3 separate regions of the Homo sapiens genome follow, and regions 1 and 3 are each linked to region 2. Evidence: promoter capture Hi-C in 16 types of primary human blood cells and fetal thymus (Javierre and others, 2016). All regions are on one chromosome and are shown on one strand. Each heading gives the region's core, a stretch centred on a gene start or on the middle of the fragment in contact. The rest is flanking DNA. Distances are from core to core; before and after follow the strand shown.

Region 1 (2,772 bases), core at 258-2,757, 360 kb before region 2:
TTCTTTTTTTTTTTAGAGATAGGGTCTTGCTATGTTGCCAAGGCTGGTCTGAAGTCCTCACCTTAAGTGATTCTCCTGCCTTGGCCTCCCAAAGTGCTGGGATTAAAGGCATGAGCCACCATGCCTGGCCTAGAGAAATCTATTACTGAACATTTAGCTTAGGGGTCCATAATTTTACTGTTGGGCTATCTGAAAGTAGGGTTGTTTTAGACTCTGTAAGAGAAGCTTTGGGTTAACTGGGAGACAAAATGTAAGAATTGGCTTAATTCACAGCAACTGACTCTATTATATCTCCAAGGTTTCCACTCTTGGATTTGCTAACTCTTAGGGAAGCTAGAAGCAGACTGCCTGCATGTGGGTCTTGGCTGTATTCCCTACCAGCTGGGAACATTCGGCAGGTTACTTAACCGCTGAGAACTTTTGTTTCTTCCAGTAAATGGAGATACTGGTGGTATGAATTTCATAGGGTTGTTAAGAAGATTGAACATGAAATGCTTAAACAGTCTCTGCCATGGAGTAAGTCTTCATGATGAATATTAGCTTTTATAATTATGACCTCAGGCACACCCATCCACACACAGAGCAGTCACCACCAGGGAAACATGGTGGATTGAGGAGAGATGGCAGAAGTGGCCCTCGCCTCATCTAATGACAAAGAAAGGAAATGACTAGAACCGATGAGGTCTAAATGTAATGGAGAGGAAGCTTCAGCAATGAGCCAAGAGTCCCTCTGCTCACAGTTTTCCAAGGGAGAGAATTACGGGAAGACACAGCTTCCGGCATTTAGAAGTGAGAATGTTTTCATCATCAAAATAGTGAGGTCTATTTTAAATAGTTTGGCTAATTAGGTGCTGATTAAATTGCATTGCTCCCATATGTTTGTGCTTTCTTCTATGCAGAGTTTATCTGCCTGAAAAGTCTAGGTAAATTATGTGTCTATGAAGGAATTCTTTGATACCTTGCACCTAGTAAGCACTCAGAAGTATTGAGTAAAATTATTTTATGAAGCTAATTATCATAATGGTACAAACAGCGTCTAATATGTTTGAATGCTTATTCTGTGCTTCACATAACTATCTCATTTAATCCTGTGAGGTTGGTGCTGTCATCATTTCAATTAATTCCTAAGAGACTGAAGTTAAAGACTAGAGGATCCTTGGTGTGTCAAGATCTCTCTGACGTTTCTTTGTGTGCTTGGATTTTTGTTGTTGGGTATTCTTAGCACAAAATGCACCTGCAGGAGAAATGATAGAAATGACTTTCAATGGATCTCTAAATAGACGTGGCTGCTAAACAATCAGGAGGGGTGTCATATGGCTGAGCTGAAGATAGGAGCTTCCTGAAGATGGTGTGGTGACTCTCGGAGTTTGATGGATGGAGAGGGGTGGAGTGGGTGGAGAGGAGGAAGAAGGAAGAAGAGTGAGCTGAAACCACCTGTGAAAGCAGACTGGCAAAGGGCCCTTGGGCATGGCAATTTTGGGTAAAGCTGAAAGATACTGGCCTGTCTTCACCAAAGATGGTGCTGACTCATTGTAACTGACCCCAGTCCATCTGTCCAGCCTCATCTCCTATTATTTACTCCTCTCAATGTCTACAGTCTACTTTCTGTTGCCTACATGCACCATTTCTTTCCACAAGTCTCTGTTTTACACACAGTGTGTCTTCTATCTTGCATGCCCTTCCTCATAGCCCCAGCTGGTAAATTTAATAAAATCATCACTGATTTTGTGCCCTTTCCTTTGCCAAACATTGAATATAGGTTATATCTAATTCTTGTAACAATTCTGCAAGGTAGGCATTATTATTTCCATTTTCCAGATGGAGAAACAGAGCCCCTCCCCCCGCCAAGGCTAAATAGTGAACACAAGATTATACAATTAGGTAGACCTAGCGCTAGGATGTAGGTCTGTCTGATTCTAAAGACTGTCACATTCTTCTTTTCCTATTCTTTTAAAAATTCCCCGTCACCCTTCAAGACTTAGCCTTGGCTGCTCTGCCTATGGAGTAGCCATTCTCTATTCTTGTACTTTCTTAATAAACTTGCTCTCACTAAATTAAAACAAAAAGCAAACAAAAAAGACTTAGCCTTAATGCTGTTTCCTCTGTGAAGCCGTAATGGAATTCCTCAGACAACTGCATATTCCTCGACAGTTCTGTAATGCTCTGTACACACCTACAAAAATAGTATTTATTAACGTTGTATTCTAATTAGATGTCTGCACGGCTTACCCAGTATAGATTTCATAAACAGATGGGAAGGAGTATAGCTTTATATATCTTTATAACCTCCATCTTCCAACCAAGCTTTTCTCATTGCTTGTCACATAATACACCCTTACTAAATTATTGTTGAATTAATGAATAAATTAATTAATGCTAAGGAGCTCATTTGTAAAGCTGTGAACTTCTTTCTCTTTGCCAGATTATCGATTCTGCCTCTAAGTATGTTCTCTGTCTGCATCCCACACTAGCGTGATGAACACTGACCAGATGGTTAGTTATGGAGACGTCCATACTTGGAACCCAAAGCCTGCATTCCAAGCCAGTGTGCTGGAGACTACTGGAGGCCACACCAGACCCTTGTCTACCTTCTCTGTGGCCTCCAAAAGAGCAGCAGTAGCAGCAGCACCAAATTTAAGGACAATGTGAAACCCTGAATTAACCCTTCAGGATCTGACCTGGCTGTAGAAGTCTTTGGCCTTCCCAATCCAAACCCATCTTACAGCATTTGCTGAGTTACCTCACCTCACCATCATTCCGCACAGACACGCA
Region 2 (2,700 bases), core at 184-2,683:
AAGACATAGAAAAGCAGAGAATGAAGTGCATGTCAGGAGGAGGAACTCTTCTGCAGAAAGAAGCCACAGACATTAACAAAAATGTTGCAGTGGGAGAAAGTAACAGGTACATCAACAAGGCTAGAGCCACGTGGCGGGATAATAGGGATGCTGCCCAGGTGTTTCCAGAAGCGATAAAACTTGTAAACTTTTATAATTTTCTGAAGTGCGCTGCATGGTAAAATATGGTCATTGTGCAAAAAAGTTGTCCCCAATGCAGTCTCAGGAGTCACTGACTTCAAAATAAAGAAACGGTCTCTTCGTAGTAAATGTAGTACCTCGTGGCTTTCCCAAAGTCATTGAAAACGAATATCCCTAAAAAGGGTGTGATTTCAAGAGTGAATTACGATCCGCCCGCAATCTGTGTACCGTGTGTGGACGAATGCTTGCAGCGAGCGGTGCGGAAGGCTGTTCAGAGAGGTGTTTTTGGTCTGCCGTGGTCTCCTGGGATAGTCAGGAATGATTCTTGCTACGGGCTGACCCGGGTTCCCTCTTCCCCGAGGTGCAGGGGGTGGGGTCGGCTTCTGGACTGCTCCGCGCTCTCCGGTCCCTACCTCATTGGGCACCGCCCACTTCGTGGGCTTCCAGGTGCGAGCCCTCGCGCCGGGCCCATCTCCCCAAGGGGCCGCGGCGGACTGGAGGAGACGCCCGGGGCCTGGCGGCGCGCGCGTCCGCGGCCAGGGCGGGTGGGCGGATGCGCCGAGGAAGCGGCTGGGCGAGGAGCCTCCGCTCCCGGGCCTCGGGTGCCCGCCAAGGGCCACGCGGGCGAGGGGGAAACCCAGAACTTCCCGCCCGGGAGCGACTGCCCCCGCTCCCGGCTCTGGCTGGCTAGGGGGATGTTCTCGCGAGAGGAGAGGGGGCGCGGGGCACCGCTGGTTTGGGGGCGCGGGGAAGCCTGAGGACGAGGGCCGGGCAGGGAGGGGAGCAGAGGCGGCGGGCAGGGCCGGGGACGCGGGGAAGCCGCTCCCGCCAGTCGCCGAGAGCCAGCCCCTGACGTCAGGAGTTTTCCTCAAAGTCAACAACAAGCCCCGCGGCGACGGCGAGAACCGATCGGCGGCGGCCCCGAGCGGGAGGAAGGAGGGGGCGGGGAGGCGGCGGGGGGTCCCCTCAGCGAGGCGCAGCCCGGGAGGAGGCCGCAGAACCCCTCCCCGCGCCGGGCGCGCCCCGGGGCCCAGAGCCGCCGCCCCGCCGGCGTGACCCGGCCCCCGCCCGAGCGGTGTTTTCTGGTGATGAATTTGTAGCCGATATCCGATTCCCATGTAGAGTCTCCGCCTCCTCCTCTCCCCGCCGCCGCCCTCTCTCCTCCCTCCCCCTCCCGCCGCCGCCGCCGCCGCCGCCGCCTCCCGCTCCAGCTCCGCGGCCCGGCCCGGCCGGCTCCCTCCCTCCCTCCCCTGCAGCCCTTCGCTTGCCCTCCCGCCGGCCGCACCGGGCTCCAGGAGGCCAGAGGCTCTGTGGGGTGGGGGGAGGACAGGAGGGGAGGAGGAGGGAGGGGGGACCCCCGAGTCGCCCCCTCTCCTCCCCCCGCCCCCCCCCGGCTCCATCCTCCGCCGCCGCCCGAGCAGCTGCGGGGCCGCCACCGCCGCCGCCGCCGTTGCAGGTAACAGCCACCGCCCCCAACTCTAGCCCCCTCCCCGCCTGGCCTCCACTCCCTCCGGGCCCCGGGCCCCGGTCCGCCCTCCCTGCCTCCCTCAGGCGGGGGATGGCGGCGGGGTGGGGTGAGGCGGGGGCTTCTGGGTTGTCACCGCGCCGGGGGCGTGGGCGGGGGCTGGGTCACCGGAGGCTTCGGGTGTGGGTGTGGAGGCCGGGGGATGCCCAGCGCGGTTGACACCGACACCCCCCGCTTTCCGGGGAAAGCTGGGGGGCGGCGGTGCGCAGCGGGCCGGGGGAGGGGTGTTCCCGGCCTAGCGGTACCGTCTGTGTCTGGGCTGCCCCGGCCCGGCGCCTGCTGTCTGCGCAACTCTCGCTCCTTCCCCTCGCCCCTCCCCGCCCGGGCCGCGCGGCGTGGGGAGGGGGCGCCCGCCTGGACCGGGGGCGGCGGCGAGGTTATATAACGCGTGGAGCGCCGGTGTCAGTGTGTTTGGGTTGGGGGGAGGGAGCCGTCTGCCGCGCGCCCTGGCGCTGAGGCTGTCTGCGCGTGGGGTGGGGTGAAGGCGAGGATGCACAGGCGTCCCCGGGGTCTCCTTCCTTCCCCCACCCTTCCCCGCCACTGGCGCGCAGGAAAAGACGGCACTGGTGGGGTGGGGGGGGGGGTGTGTGTGTGGGAGGTGGGTAACGTGCTTGTCTGTGTTTTTAATAGTAGTGGGGTTTTGATCCGCTTGGGAGTTGTGTGCTAAGAATAGAAATGTGCGGAAGATGCTGGGTTTGGCTGATCCAGTGATGCTGTCGCTGCTGGCGGCGGCGGCAGCTCTGGCTGCAAGTAAACAGACCAGCCTCTTCCTTGTCCACCTCCTCCGGCGCATCGGTCCGCATCAGCCATGATGCCGGTGGGGCCCTTCAGAGCCCAAAGTTGAAGCCTAGCTGGTTGCTGTGTTGACCCTGACGCCGAGGCGGGGTCACCATCCCTTGTTTGGGATTTCCCGGGAATCTACAGTTAGCCTAGAGATAAAGAATCTCGTTGGGGCCAGGTTTTTCCAATACCGGTATTTACTGTTTATGTTCTGA
Region 3 (2,700 bases), core at 164-2,663, 450 kb before region 2:
GCATCTTCCTAACGATTTCTCTGCCCAGAGCCCTTCAGAGGCTTCCTGTTGTCTGCTAGATAAAGCCAAGCTATCAGTGCTCTCAGCCTGAGAGCAAGCTGAGATGCAGTCTTGTCTGAGTCTGCAGGGTGGTGGGAGAAGAGGCATGGGGCTTTTTGGTTGCAGTAGAGGGAGGAGATTGTTTGAGAAATGGGGGGAAAGAACTGAAACAACCAAAACAATGAGAGTGAAAAGGAACCACGACACCAGTGTCATGGACTTGTGTCTCTGCAGAGAAGCAGGGCATGTCGAAACTGCAAGCTTTTCGTTTCTCTCTCTCTCTCTCTCTCTGTCTCCTTTTTTGGAGTCTCGCTCTTGTTGCCCAGGCTGGAGTGCAGTGGTGCGAGCTCACCTCAATGCAACCTCCGCCTCCCGGCTTCAAACAATTCTCCTGCCTCAGCCTCCCGAGTAGCTGGGATTATAGGCGCCCGCCACCATGCCCGGCTAATTTTGTATTTTTAGCAGAGACAGGGTTTCACCATGTTGGTCAGGCTGGTCTCGAACTCCTGACCTCAGGTGATCCACCCGCCTCGGCCTCCCAAAGTTCTGGGATTACAGGTGTGAGCCACCACGCCCAGCCTAAAACTGCAAGCTTTTCACACAAGACCCAGGACTTACATTTTTTAGTGCTCACTAACACAAGTAATAAAATGTGACACAGAGGGAGGGAGGGAGGAGAGGGGCTTTCTCCTCTACCTTTACAAGAAACACAGTGAAACCGCTTTGCAAAAATTAGGTCAGTGAGAGAACTATGGCAGTGAGGGAGATCTGATCTAGCCAACCCTCATCTTGCCTTTAGCCTTCAAGTTGCCATTAATTGTTAATATTTCTGGGTGTAGGCCAAGCTAACTTTGAGAGTTAAATGATAATAGCCCTTTCCCCAAAGTCAGCTGCTTTTGTAAAAGTAATGAGAGACCACCAGGCTAGCAGGGTAGAGGAGCCTGAATTCTGCTAAGGTGTAGACATAAATGATTGCCAACCATTATTCTGCAGGTCATAAGATTTGCAACCTCCCAGATTACTCCTGCAGATAATATCACCGTTATAGAGCCTAAGATTGGCCTTTGGGATATCTTTTCAGTCTTTTTTTTTGATGTCTGACACTCATGCCTCCACCTAGACCCACTGACCCCTCCTGTGGCCCCACCCACAAAGGACTCAGGCACAGGAGGACCATTTCCCACACCCCTATGATTGCACCCCCAGCCAATCAGCAGCAAGCACCCATTGCCCAGACACCTCCATCCCTTCTCCCAAACTACCCTTCAAAAACTCCTAACCTCTGAGCCTTCAGTGAGGTCGATTTGAGTGATAACTCCATCTCCCATGTGGCATGACTGACCTCGAGTCAATTAAACTCTTTTTATTTTTTTGAGACGGAGTGTTGCTGTGTCACCAGGCTGGAGTGCAGTGGGGCGATCTCAGCTCACTGCAACCTCCACTTCCAAACAATTACTCTATCTCAGCCTCCCGAGCAGCTGGAACTACAGGTGCGCACCACCACACCTGGCTAATTTTTGTATTTTAGTAGAGACTTGGTTTCACCATGTTGGCCAAGATGGTCTCGATCTCCTGACCTTGTGATCTGCAATGCTGTGGTCTCTGTGAATGGATTTTGTTTGTGTAGTGGGCAGGAAGCACCCATCGGGTGGTTATAACAGCATGACTCTAGGCTTGCCACACAGCTGTGACGGTGGCACACAGCAGCCCTCAAATGGCTTCACAAGCAAAAAACAACAGAGGGGCCCAGGGCCAAGGAACGTGAGAGAACTCTTTATGAGCTTAAACGACAAAACCCAAGATCCCCGAAACACTTGGAGAGGATTTTGCAAAGTTAGATCTCCTCTATCAAGGATGTTGGGATAAGAGTCAATGAAATAGAATTTTGGTGGCTGCTGGGGGCCCATCAGCACCTACTAGCTGGAGAGCCAGAGTGGCATGTATTTCATCTTCCCGGGAGGTTTTATTACTGACATTACTCCAGAACCTCCTTATAAATTGGCCTCTCCTGGACACTTGCTCTTTTAGGATTAAAAAACAACTTTGTTATTATTCTCTTTCTACCACTGCCTTCAAATAAAGCTATTTTTCTCCATTCCTGGACAATCTCTTGGACGAGGGCTACAACTCAGTCAGGCACAAAAGTACCAAGCTTTTGAATATTGGAATCGCCTCACTTTTCAATCTAAGGACAGAGCTTCAGTCTTTCAGCCAGTTCATTGCTGCTTTTGCAGCCGTATCTTCTATCACTTTTTTTATTTTTATTTTTTCAAGTGAACACTTAATTTTCCATCCATTTCTTTTCTTCTTTCTCTCTCTCTCTTTTTTAAAATTAATTAATTAATTAATTTTTTTTGAGGCAGTCTCACTCTGTCACCCAGGATGGAGTACAGTGGTGCAATCTCAGCTCACTGCAACCTCCACCTCCTGGGTTCAAGCGATTCTCATGCCTTAGCATCCTGAAGAGCTGGGATCACAGAAACATGCCACTGCACCCGGCTAACTTTTGTATTATTATTATCATTATTATTATTATTATTTTGGTAGAGGCAGGGTTTCATCACGTTAGCCAGGCTGGTCTCGAACTCCTGACCTCAAGTGATCCACCCACCTTGGCCTCCCAAAGTGCTGAGATTACAAGCATGAGCCACCGTGCACGGC

Evidence for each region. Contacts are between HindIII fragments. The CHiCAGO score rates a contact against its expected background, and 5 or more counts as called.
Region 1: a fragment that was not itself captured here is called in contact with the fragment with the promoter of AKT3 in region 2 in 1 of 17 cell types (total B cells); the score reaches 5.8 in total B cells.
Region 3: a fragment that was not itself captured here is called in contact with the fragment with the promoter of AKT3 in region 2 in 6 of 17 cell types (fetal thymus, non-activated CD4 T cells, naive B cells and 3 more); the score reaches 6.6 in fetal thymus.

Annotation. Positions count from the first base shown.
Region 1 is chr1:244,205,126-244,207,897 of GRCh38, reverse strand. No RefSeq gene overlaps it. Among named protein-coding and RNA genes, the nearest start is that of SPMIP3, 150 kb to the left of the region's middle. The HindIII fragment of the contact is 1,599 bases long and covers 708-2,306 here.
Region 2 is chr1:243,848,976-243,851,675 of GRCh38, reverse strand. AKT3 (AKT serine/threonine kinase 3) reads left to right here and starts at 1,433. Exons shown (of 14, transcript NM_005465.7): 1 at 1,433-1,636. RefSeq lists an enhancer at 2,024-2,524. The HindIII fragment of the contact is 10,171 bases long and covers 1-2,700 here.
Region 3 is chr1:244,296,845-244,299,544 of GRCh38, reverse strand. The region is part of intron 1 of LOC105373262 (a long non-coding RNA gene); the gene reads left to right. Among named protein-coding and RNA genes, the nearest start is that of SPMIP3, 54 kb to the left of the region's middle. The HindIII fragment of the contact is 1,560 bases long and covers 634-2,193 here.